Linked DNA regions of Homo sapiens: region 2 is linked to region 1. The links are contacts of gene promoters, found by promoter capture Hi-C in human tissues and cell types (Jung and others, 2019). All regions are on one chromosome and are shown on one strand. Each heading gives the region's core, a stretch centred on a gene start or on the middle of the fragment in contact. The rest is flanking DNA. Distances are from core to core; before and after follow the strand shown.

Region 1 (6,261 bases), core at 532-3,031:
TCCTGGTATTGAAACTGAATGGGCTGTAGTTGGTTGTCGTTCTGAGTCATCTTCCTAACTAGGGCCTCTTTCAGTGCAAGGGCGTTATTCAACTCAACCACCTCCTTAGACATCTGAGCTTGATGGAGAGCATGCTGAGTGGTAAAAGCGTCAGAAGACCTGCTTGTCTCTGGACTGGTTTCCACTTGAGCTTCTTCTTCTACCGCAGTATCAATGGCTGCAGCCGTGCAAGCAACAGTTTCATCTGATAACTGGGTAATCAGTTGCTGCAGGTTACAAATTATCTCTACATTTTCTTTCAATTCCTGGTCTTCCAAAGTCTCCACTAGCTTTTGAAGATCCAGCTTGCAGGCCACATGCTGCCTGAGCTCTTCTAGCTTGGCGTTCAGTTTTTCATTCACTTGCTCTGTCAAAATGATCCTCTCCAACATCTGGGCTGTCTGACCAGCTGCCTTGCTCAGACAACGACTTAATTTTTCATTCTCCTCTACCAGGGACTGATTCTTCTCCATCAGGGATTGTAGATTCTCTGATGGTTCTGCATTTATAGATCCAGGCAGGGTACCTCCATGGGCTTGTAGCAACAAGACTTGTAGCTGTTGTACCTGTTGCTTTAGATGATTAAGTTCAGCTGTGTGGGGATCAATATTAACAATAGGTTTGTTCTTGATTTTTCTTGCTCTGTCAGCATAGCGAAGGGTACTTAATGTTTCCTCTAGATTGGAGTCAGCAGGACTCACACAGGCTATCATAAGAGTGTGGCTGTTACCTCCTAGAGAATCTTGCAGCAGTCGAGTTAACTTGGAATCTCTGTAGGGCACAAAGCTACCCTTTTTGTCATCTCCAAGAGCACTGATTACATTTCCCAAGCATAGGAGGCCTCGGTTAATATTAATACCCTCTTTTAGACGATCCCCTTCAGCCTTGGTTTTCTTCTGTCTTTCTGATCCAGCGAGATCTACAAGATGCAGCTTGGAGCGAAAGCTGCAATTCTTGTCACTTTTCTTTCTTTGCTCTATGGAGATTGTAAAGATGGCATGAGATCGGGACGACTGGGAGTTCATAGCTGTGGAGGCCACAGTCCTAGAGTTGTTGCCCTGCTCCAAACAGGAAACAGTATCCAAGGCAACTAAAACAGTCTTCTCAGTGAGTCCCACAATCTTTATGCCTTCCTTAGGATCCTCCCGTATATTTATTTGAGCTTTCTCACGAGATGGGCATAGAAGATCCAAAATTTCTTCATTGTAAATCTCTAAGTAAGACACTTTCAGAGTAAATTCAAAGTCACTCTTTTTATCAATTTCTTTGAAGAGCAGTTGTATTACCCTAGGAATAATGCCAACTGTTGGTTCATTCTCCTGCTCCGCAGTGTATGCACCTCCCATTGAATAGGTTTTTCCAGAGCCAGTCTGCCCATAGGCCAGGACCGTTGCATTATATCCTTTAAATATGCCTTTTATGAGCGGCGCTACTGCTTTATTGAAGACTTCTTCCTGCTCAGTACAGGGGTCAAACACAAAATCGTAGGTGAAGGATTTATCAGTACCAACCACCACCTGAGTCTCCCCGGGCACGAAGGAAAGGCACATCTGGCAGCCCTCGCTAATCTCTTTGGGGACCAGAGGGCGACAACGCAGTGCCACTCTTACAGGAATTCCCTTCACCTCTTCCTTCATGATCCTATCTCAGCACCGTCTCAAACTAAATGTCCCTTCCCCGTTCACCCGGGGTCTCCCGCCGCCCTGTCCCAGCCGGAGCTTTAACCGCCAAGTTTCAAATCCCTCCCAGAGACACCAACCAATTGCAGTGCAGGCGGCCCGAGGGCGGAGCGCGCACGTCCGCGCGCGCAGGCCAGCACGGTGGGAAGGGGAGGGTAAATCGAGAAATTTCTTTTTAACCAACAACAGAAAAATGTCCTGGAACTAATAAGTGAGTATAGTATAAACTTAAAGGATACAAGGTTAATACACAAAAGTAAATTGGTTTCCTATATACCAACAGTGAATAAGTGATATTCAGAATTGAAAGCACAATACCACTTACATTAGCACTTAAAAAATGAAATAGGTATAAACCTAACAGAATATGTATGAGATCTACGTGATGAAAACTACAAAACTCTGATGAACAAGATCAAAGGGGAACTAAATAAATGGAGAGATATTTTATGTTCATGGATAAGAAGACTGAATATCGTAAAGATGTCAGTTCTTCCCAAACTGATCTATCCATTCAATGCAATTCAAATCAAAATCCCAGCAAGTTGTTTTATAGATATTGACAAACTGACTCTAAAGTTTATATAGAGAGGAAAAAAAAAATACAATGGCAAACATAATATTGAAGGAGAAGAACAAAGTCATAAGACTGACACTACCCAACTTCAAGACTTACTATAAAACTACAGTAATCAAGACAATGTGGTATTGGCAAAAGAATAGACAAATAGGCCAATGTATTAGAGTAGAGAGACCATTTAGATACAGTGAATAGACCCACATAATATAGTTAAATGATCTTTGACAAAGAAGCAAAGGCAATACAATGAAACAAAGATAGTTTTTTCAACAAATGGAACAAATGGTGCTGGAACAACTGGACTTCTGCATGTTAAAAAAAAAAAAAAAAAATCAGACCTTACAGCCTTCACAAAAATTCACTCAAAAGGATCATAGTCCTAACTGTAAAATGCAAAACTATTAAACTCCTAGAAAATAACATAGGAGAAAACCTAGATGAATTCAGGTGTGAGATGACTTTTTAGATATAACACCAAAGGCACAATCCATGAAATAAATCATTAATAAGTTTCATTAAAATCGAAAACTTCTGCTCTTCAAACAAAACTGTCAAGAGAATAAGAAGAGAAGCCATAGACTGAGAGAAAATATTTGCAAAAGACACATCTGATAAAGGAATATTATCCAAAATATACAAATAACTCTTAAAATGCAACAATAAGTGAACGAACGACCTGATTTTAAAATGGGCCAAAGGCTTTAGCAGACACCTCACAAAAGAAAATATAAACATGGCAAAAAGCACATGAAAAGATGCTCCACATCATATTTGGTCAGGAAAATGTAAATTAAAACAATAAGATACTACTACACACCTACTAGAATGGCCAAAATCTGGAACACTGACAACATCAAATGCTGACAAGGATGTACAATGCTAAGAGTGAACCCTAATGTAAACTATTGGCTTTGAATGATAATGATGTGTCAGTGTATGTTCATTAATTATAACAAATGTACCGTTCTGGTGCTGGATGTTGATAACATGTCTGGGGGAAGGAGGCATGTGGGAAATCTCTGTACTTTCCTCTTAATTTTGCTGTGAATCTAAAACTGATCTAAAAAATGTTGTCTTTTTACAAAAAAAAAAAGTTGAGCAAAAGATGCAAGACAAAAGAGCAAAAACTGTACAGTTCCATTCACATGAAATTCTAAAACAAGAAAAAAATAAACTGTGGTCATATGAAATAGAAGTCAGAAAGTGGTTGCTGGGGGAATGGGGGGCAGGGGAGGATTGACTAGAAAGTGACATAAGGGGTGCCCTTTGGGTGTGATGAAAATGTTTTAGGTCCTGTTTTGGATGATGGATGCTCAAGTTATATATTCGTGGAAACTTATCAAATTGAATATTTAATCTGTACATTTTAAGATCTTAATTGTATCTCCGTTAAAAATAAGGTGGCTTTAAAAATTGATCTCCTCTACCGATTCAAAAATGTACATACACACATTCTTCCTCTAATTTCAGTGTGTTCCCAGACCTCAGAGGTTCACAGAATTCAGATTAAGAACTCCTGGACTAAATGACTTCTAAGGGCTTTCCAATATCTCACATTCTCTAAAGGAAAAAGAGTTCTGGAATCACAATGCAATTACAGAGTCAGCAGGGAAAAATGATTACCCCAAATTCCATTTACTCATATTTCACCTACAGCCTAAAGCAAGAAACACACACATCTTTCTTGGAAGTTAACTGCAAAGGTCAGTGTCTTCATTCTGGCCTGGTGGAGTGGAGGTGGAAGCCAGGGAACTCATCATAAACAACAGCATGGACTGGAGAAGGCTGCTAGCTGGAGGAGATATGTCATGAGGAAGAAGCCCTAGTTTGGAGCCTTGGCTTTACCACCAACAAACTGAAGGACCTAGAGGGAATCTGGGAATCAATCAGTCCAACTGTGTCTTTTTTTTTTTTTTTACTTTTTTTTTTGGTTTTTTGAAACAGGGTCTGACTTTGTCACTCAGGCTGGAGTGCGGTGGCATGAACATGGCTCACTGCAGGCTCTACCTCCTGGGCTCAAGTGATCATCCATCCCATCTCAGCCTCCCAAGTACCTGGGACTACAGGTGCATGTCACCACGCCTGGCTAATTTTTGTTCAATTGTTTGTTTTTGGCAGAGATGGGCTTGCACCATGTTGCCCAGGCTGGTCCCAAACTCCTGAACTTAAGGGATCCTCCCACCTCAACCTCCCAAAGTACTGGGATTACATGTATGCACACCACACCCAGCCAACTGTGTCATTCCAAAGAGGAGCACATTGAGTCCTAGCGAAGGAGACTGAGTGGCTCAGCAAGTTTCTAGCAGACCATAGATTAGAACCCTCCCTTATCAAACCCAATTGTTTTGGACCCTGTTGCCTTGTTTGCCCAGTCACTATTTTCTAAGAATTTCTTCTTCTTCTCATTATGCATAGGGTTATAGAAGTTGCTATATTTCTTCAGTGTAACCCACCTTATCTGGCCTATGGTTTACAGATCCAGATGTGAGTATCTGACTCAGGTTATGCCAATCTGTCTTTTCCAGAGAGAGAGCAAGAAAGATGACAGAGAGCGAGAGAGAGAGAGAGAGAGGAAGAAGAGAGAAGGGAGGAGGAGGATAGAAGTAGGCCAAGAGAAAAAAGATTCCATCTCCTATTAGATGCTTACACTACCCATACAAACTATGGAGCCGTCAGCAATGGCCAGTATCTGCCCCATGTCTAGGAAATCTGTAAATCAGACGTGCCCAGAAACTAGAGCTGCTGGTCAGCTTCCAGATTATTTCTATAAAGCTGCTGAGAGTTCAGAGATAATTCAAGAGGTGCTTAGTCCAGAGGCCATAAAAAAGCTGTGGGAGAAATTAAACCTAATGGTGGCAACTAAGATTGAGAGTTGGCATATGAACTAAAAAGGAGTATCTCTGAAGCTGAGATTCCTTATTCTAAGGAAAGGATGTGTGAAAAGATGTGACTATTTATCATACAGTTACTTATATTAGCAAAAAATTGAAAATTGCCTAAATGTCCAAAATAAAAGTGTTAAATGTGATTTAGCCCTGTGATAAAACATTATATAAACATTAAATATCCTGTCCTAGAAGAATACTTAATGATTTGGCCATTGCTTTCCATATAATGTTAAGTATAAATAGAATACAAACTATATAAAACATAATAATTCCAATTTTGTAAAAGCATAGCAACTTATTTATATTTACATGCATAGAAAAAAAGCCCGGAAGAAGAAAACATGCTAACAGATGTTATCTTTGGTAAATCAGATTTGGTTTTGTTCCAACTGGTCTCTGGTTACCTAACAGAATTAAGGACAGGGAAAAGCAACTTATTCTACTTCTACCCAATCCACCCAATTAAATTAAATACCCTAAATGCCACATTTCTTAAAGGGGAAAAGGGACGTATCTATTGGAGTTGTAGACGAAGAGGAAAAATGGCACCAACTCCATGTCTTTCTAAATGTTGTACTATTGGCCCCAGGCAGGGTGTTTTCAGAATCCTAAGCATCACTCTTGAGATAATGTGGCAAGCAGCAGTTGCAAGGTAATCACCCCTCATGACTCCAGTTTGTTTTGCCACTGGGTTCCTGCCAAAGATGCTTGTTCCGGAGAAACCAAAGTGGTCAAGGTGGCTCTCAATGTGCCACCTGATGAAATGGATGTGACCTATAGCATCCCAGCTTGTCACCTGGGCTTTGTTTTCTCATAGTACCCATCTTGTTTTTATCATCGGTGGTCTCTGACACAAAATTGTCTTTAGAGAAACAAGGGCATGGTATTCACTGAATATTTACTCATAAGTAGGGGTAATAATAAAAATATGTAACAACCTGATCAGCACATCCTCCATCCCTTCTGTGCCAACAGAAATAGGCACAGCAACAGCTCTGGAGCCATGTTCTAGAGGCCCTTTGCTGTTCTCAGCATTAACCTTTCAGTTGCTGGATCATGAGGAGGGCAGGGGAGG
Region 2 (6,261 bases), core at 1,543-4,042, 39 kb before region 1:
ATTCCTATGAACATTTACATAAGCATTCTCAAAAAGTATTTGAATGCTCAAAATTTATTTGATAAGTAAACATCTCCCTTTGCAAAAATGACCTAACTCTAATGCATCATGTGTTCTAATTATGATTCGTTCAAACAGTCCTTAACACACCTACGTGTAGAGCTGACTCCCATCAGAAATTTTTCAAAGCTAGTTTTATGTGAGAAATGGCTTTTGACACATTTGGCACTTTAACGTTTCTGAATCTTAAAACATCCGTGCTTAATAACTCCTTGTCTGCAGTTAGCAGTGATTTTCAGAATTTTTGTATCTATTACCTCATTTGACTACTATGTGACCTTCAAGAGGTAAAATGTTATCCCTGTTGTACAGATTTGAAACCACTTGTTCAGAGTAGCAGAATAATAGGTCAGGACCAAAGGAGGTAACCCCACAAACATTTACCAGTTCTGCATAAAGTAAAATAAGCTGTTACAGTTTAGGCCGGTGTTTCCCGAAGTTTTTTTCCACAGAACATTAGGATGTCAATAGGGCCACTGCATGTGTTTTTGTGGTCAAATAAGTTTGGAAAACATTAACAGGTTTCCCTACAGTAGGACGTCTCAGAGCTCTTACGACACTAACGTACTTGGTGAACTCTATAGAGGCCCCACAACGTGGGCCCATATAAATATTCCCCCAAAGGTTCTGTAGAACACAGGTAATTTTTTTCTAAAGTTAGCAGCAGGGGTACCAGAAGAATGGCAGAGTGGTTAAGAGCCTAGGCTCTAAAATTCAACTGGTATCGAGCTCTGGCCCCAACACTTACTGGTTTTGTGGCTATGAATAAGTCACAGAATCCCCAGCCTCGCTCCCTCCCCTGTAACATGCAGATTCAAACGGCCACTCCTGGGGTTGTCGTGAGGATTAAGTGAGACAAGGCAAGTAGAGTGTCTAGCTGATCGTAAGCACTCAATAAATGTTAGCTGGTATTTCTGCCAATGAGGAAGAAAGTCAGAGTGGGATCTAAAAATAAAATAAAATGCACAGGTTGGGCTGAGAAGCCCATTCTGAGTTTATTACATAGGAGATTTACTGATGAGTGCTCTTGGGTCAACACCTATGGAAGGGAGGGGACAGAAGAGACAGAAAATGAAGCTGTGATCCAGCTCAATGACAGCCAACCCCACAAAGAGGTGTAGAGCTAGATTAGCCCTTCAGAATTGTCCTTGGTTGGGCTGAGAAGGCCAGCTCTTTACAACCCCACATGGATGAGTCGATGGATATTGGACACCCCAGGAAAGGCTGACCTTGGGCGAGACAGCTCTCTGCAACTTAGGCAATTCCTCAAGGGGCTACCACCATTCTCAGAAGCCAGGACAATAAGTCTCTTACCCAAGGAGAGTCTGAACAGTGCAGACGTACAATGTCCTGCACTGCAGCAGTGCATACTGCTTCCACCACACCAAAAAAAAAAAAAAAAAGCAAAAGCTTCCTCCGACCCTCTGGGAAGGAAACAGGGCAGTCTGCAGACAGCAACCAAATCTAGTCATTTATTCATTCATCATTTATTAATGCCTACCATATGCCAGGCCCTGAGGCTTGGGGCTTATGAATCAGGTACTGATTCTATAGCAATTGTAATAGAAATGTTTTCTCTTTACTCTTTAAGGCATGAAAATACAGATAGGGAAACAGAGAAGGAAGAGATATCAAATCACTAGAAGACAGGATATATTCTCAGGTGATCAGTCACCTGTCATCCCAGTATGAAAAGTTGCTAATTTGAATGACGAAAGGAACACAGCATTTTTTTTCCCCACAGCAATACATCAAGTTGTTCTCTCAATGACTTAGTGTGCTTGGCAAACTGTGTACGCTGCACAAAATTGAATTCCCAGGTTTAGGGAAGCCTGAGCAGGCTCGAGGTACATGAGGATTTATTGCTTTAAGTACTTAAAATGCCTCCCACTAAATTTGCTGTGACCTTCTCCCCCTGCCTATGGCCCCAAGTTAACCACAGCCTAGGACTGAGCAAAGGTTAACAACACACCAAATAAAACAAATCAGCCCCAAGGAGACAGGTCCCTGCTTCACAGAGGCAATAGAGCCAAGTCCTTCTTGTCCCTGGAAGGGTTGGCTGCATTCCTCTCTCTTCCACGTCATTCCTCAGTGCCTGCCCGCCCTCCATCCTCTTCTCCTCTTGTCACTTAACATATTCTTCAGAGTGGCCCCCCAAGCACTGTTTTCCTGTAGCAGAACTCTTGTTTTTCCCACTGATCTTCTCATTTGTTTGTGTTGTTGGGGATCAGGACACAGCACCCCAAAACATGACCAGAATATATCAACCCAAAATATGCCTGTGTAACATAAGGATTATTGTGAACTGATTATTTGTGGGGAAAGCAGGCATAGGAGAAGTTCTGCAAACAAGAGAAGTTGTCCTTTTTTAAGAGAAATTTGCATCTATAAAGGAGATCTCTATTTTAAGGGTATCTCCCTCTCTGCCCCAGGAAGAGAGAGATTACTAAATCACTAGATTCTCTTATCAATGGGGAAGGTGTCACTTAAGTCTGTATAACAAACCTTGCCCTTGTTAACAGTGCTTTTCCTGCCCTTTCCCATACCTTTCTTTTTTTGTTGGGGGGCCAGCAGGTGAGTGGGGAGGTATGATGGTATTTAAGCCTGAACCCTCAGACAATTCTTTGAGATCTACTCTTGAGATTTTGCTCTGAGATGTCCCTGAATATCTCCCCTGTACAGAGGAGGTATACATGTTATTAGACTTCTCTTCATTTTACTCTTGTTTATCTGTCTTTTGTTACAGGGAATCCCAACTAAGAACAATGGAAGGTAGAAAGAAAATTATTTTTCCTCCCCTACAAGATCTTGTCAAGACGCCAACAAACTACTCTGCTTCTAATGTTTCACATTTGCATAGCACACTACAATTTACAACCTGCTTCTGGGCCTCACAACTGGCCAAGAGGCAGGCACTGCAGAAATGACTATCTCCACTCCGGAAGTGAGGGCCCTGAGAGGCAAAGTGACTTGCCCAAGGTCACAGAGCAAAAAGGCAGGACTTAAGCCAGGCCCTCTGTGCCACAAACTAGACCCACGCACTGCCTGTCAGCCAAAGAGACTAAGTCACATATTGGCAGTGTACCTTACACTTAGTAGGACAATTGATCAAGGTCACAGACTTGGAAAGAAATTGCCCGGGGATCCACAGTGTGGATATCCAGCTTCCCAGAGGGGATGCTTGTCTACATTTATGTGCAAATATCCAACTTGAGCACACCTGCAGAATCCAAGGTTTCTTCTTCCTCTTTGTATTACTACCAAGCCAAAGAAACAAATTAAAATTTGGAAAAAAACAACAGACATTTTTAGCTTCACTGTCCCAGGTGCTAATGGAAAAACAAGACTCTCTTAAAAAAAATCAATTAAAAAAAAAAATCTTTGAGACAAGGTCTTGCTGTGTCACCCAGGCTGGAGTACAGTGGCACGATCATGACTGTGCAACCTCAACCTCCTGGCACGAGCAATCCTCCTGCCTCAGCCTCCCGAGTAGCAGGATTACAGGCATGCACCACCACACCCAGCTACATTTTGTATTTTTTGTAGAGATGGGGTTTCACCATGTTGCCCAGGGTGGTATTGAGCTCCTGAGCTCAAGCGATCCACCCACCTCAGCAACCCAAGGTGCTAGGATTACAGGCGTGAGCCATCATGCCCAGCCTCTGTAAAATATGTCAAAGAGGTTTATTCTGAACCAATATGAGTGACATGGCCCAGGGAACACACTCTCAAGAGGTCCTGAGAAAGCGTGCCCATAGCAATTGGATTACGGTTTGGTTTTATACACTTTAGATAGGCAGAAGTTATAGGTAAAGACACAAATCAATAAATGAAAGGTATACCTTGGTTCAGCCTAGAAAAGTGGGATATCCTGAAGGGGAGGCAGGGTTATAGGTTGTATGTGGATTCAGAGATTCTTTAATTTGCAATTGGTTAAAGGAGTAAAACTTTGTCTAAAAATTTGAAGTCAACAAAAAGGAACGTTTTAGGTTATAATAAGGAAGTCTACTAACCAACATACTGAGTCAGAGAGACCTGTAGGAGTGTGTGACTTAACCATTGTCTGGATGGCCTTAGATCCTGATTATAATTTGGTATCTTATTGTCACAAAGAGTCCATTTTATTAGCCTTAGGATTAATGCTGGCTGGGCGCGGTGGCTCACACCTATAATCCGAGCACTTTGGGAGGCCGAATTGGGCGGATCACCTGAGGTCGGGAGTTCGAGACCAGCCTGACCAACATGAAGAAACCCGTCTCTACTAAAAATACAAAATTAGCCGGGCGTGATGGCGCATGCCTATAATCCCAGCTACTTGGGAGGCTGAGGCAGGAGAGTCACTTGAACCTGGGAGGCGGAGGTTGCAGTGAGCCAAGATCCCGCCATTGCACTCCTGCCTGGGCAACAAGAGCAAAACTCCATCTCAAAAAAAAAAAAAAAAGAAAAAGAAAAAAAATTAATTCTGGTCAGTTGTGCCTAAACTCCAAAAGGGAGGGGCTATAACAAGGTATGTCTGACCTACCTATCACGACTGGGAATTTCATGTTTAAAGTTTTTCTGGGGTCCCCTTAGCCAGATGGGGGTCTGTTCAGTCGGTGGAAGACTTAGGATTTTATTTTTAATCTACAAAAGTGAGTTTAGAAAATTATGGTCCTCCAAGCTTAATTTTTTTTCTTGTGAATCGGAAGTTCTTGTTTTAAAATTTTCCCAGGCAAACTTCTAAGAAGAAGCCTTTGGCGAGTGTTCACTCTGCGCCTTTTGTTTCACTCGACAAATACTTACAGAGAACCTGTGGTGGGCCAGGCACTGTGCTAAATGCTGAGGACACAGCAGAGGAAAGGCAGGCAGATTCCTACCCTCAGGGAATCTTACAGTCTGGCAGGATAATGTGGTCATTAAAAAGGGAAGTACAATGCAGAATTCATAAACATTACTGTTTGTAACTCTGTTGGTGGGAGTTAAAAATAATACAGTCTTTTTGAAAGGCAATTTGGCAGTAGCTATCAAAATTGTAAATGTATATAACTTAGGAGCCAGCAGATGCAAAAGTAAAACAAAGCAACCTTAAAAAAAGTAGATATTAAAACAAAGCATAAAGTTATGGGTAAAAAAAAATTCATTGCAACATCATTTATAATAGCAACAAGAAAAATAGCAGGAAGGAAGGGAAGGAAGGAAGGAAGGAAGGAAGGAAGGAAGGAAGGAAGGAAGGAAGGGGAAAGAGGTATTAAAAGACGCAGTTTATTTGAGCATTTAACCATTCATAAACTGGGCAGCACCAGACCATAAGCAGTTCATGCCTCCACCAAGGGGGTGGGAGAGAAAATTTTTATTAGGTGTTTGAGGAAATAAGACAAAGATAATATTTGATTGGTCAAAGTGGAAAGTCTCTAGTTAGAGGTTAGCTCCATGCAGTTTCTCTTTAAAGGGTCTTAATCCTGCTAATAAGGGAGCAGCTCTCATGGCCCAATCACCTCTTACAGGCCCCACCTCTTAATACAATCACATTACAACACCTACATTTTAGAGGGGACACATTCAGACCATAACAGCCTTTCCACTCAACACTTTCAGGCCCAGCAACCAGTCTTGCTTCTGAGACAAGAACTCCCTGCAAAGCCATCTCTGTCTCCCTCCAATAAAACTGGCTGAGCCACATTTTTCTCTTGCTGCTCGCCAGGGGGCAGGATGTAGGACCTCACTCTGCAGATCCACAAACTTCACTGCTCTCATCCTCTCCACCTGTGCTCTCCTCCCTATATCATGGGGAATCTTTCTAACCTGGATGGGGCTGTGGGGAGTTGTAAATCCCTCTGTTTCCTCCAAACTCCACCAAAGTCAATCAATGAAAGGACAAAAAGCCTAGAAGTCCCAGCCTCTCTGTGGTGAGGAAGTGCAGTGCAGGACAGACTAGGGTGCAATGCTGAGATGGAAAGAAGGAAAAACATAAGGAAAAAAAGAGGATCCTAATGCACCACAGGTAACACTGTAGCCTGGTGGCTACAGGTTTGGTTCTTGGTATATGATTGTCTGGGCCTGAATCTCCACTCTACCACTCACTAAAATTGGTCAAACTATTTCACTTTTCTTTAAGGATAATTGTATCTACCTCAGGGGGCCATTGTGGAAATTAATGCAAAGGAACAGCAGATTCTGAATCAATCATCCTTCCTTTCTTCCACTTACAACTTAAGACTGCAA

What was found. Contacts are between HindIII fragments. The study calls those that stand out against the background at their distance.
Region 2: a contact is called between a fragment that was not itself captured here and the fragment with the promoter of KIF4B in region 1, in 4 of the 25 tissues and cell types used here (heart right ventricle, mesendoderm cells, spleen and 1 more).

Annotation. Positions count from the first base shown.
Region 1 is chr5:155,009,275-155,015,535 of GRCh38, reverse strand. It overlaps KIF4B (kinesin family member 4B), which reads right to left and starts at 1,781. Exons shown (of 1, transcript NM_001099293.3): 1 at 1-1,781. The coding sequence starts at 1,676. The HindIII fragment of the contact is 20,564 bases long and covers 1-6,261 here.
Region 2 is chr5:155,049,477-155,055,737 of GRCh38, reverse strand. No RefSeq gene overlaps it. Among named protein-coding and RNA genes, the nearest start is that of KIF4B, 39 kb to the right of the region's middle. RefSeq lists an enhancer at 5,980-6,261. The HindIII fragment of the contact is 6,048 bases long and covers 1-5,816 here.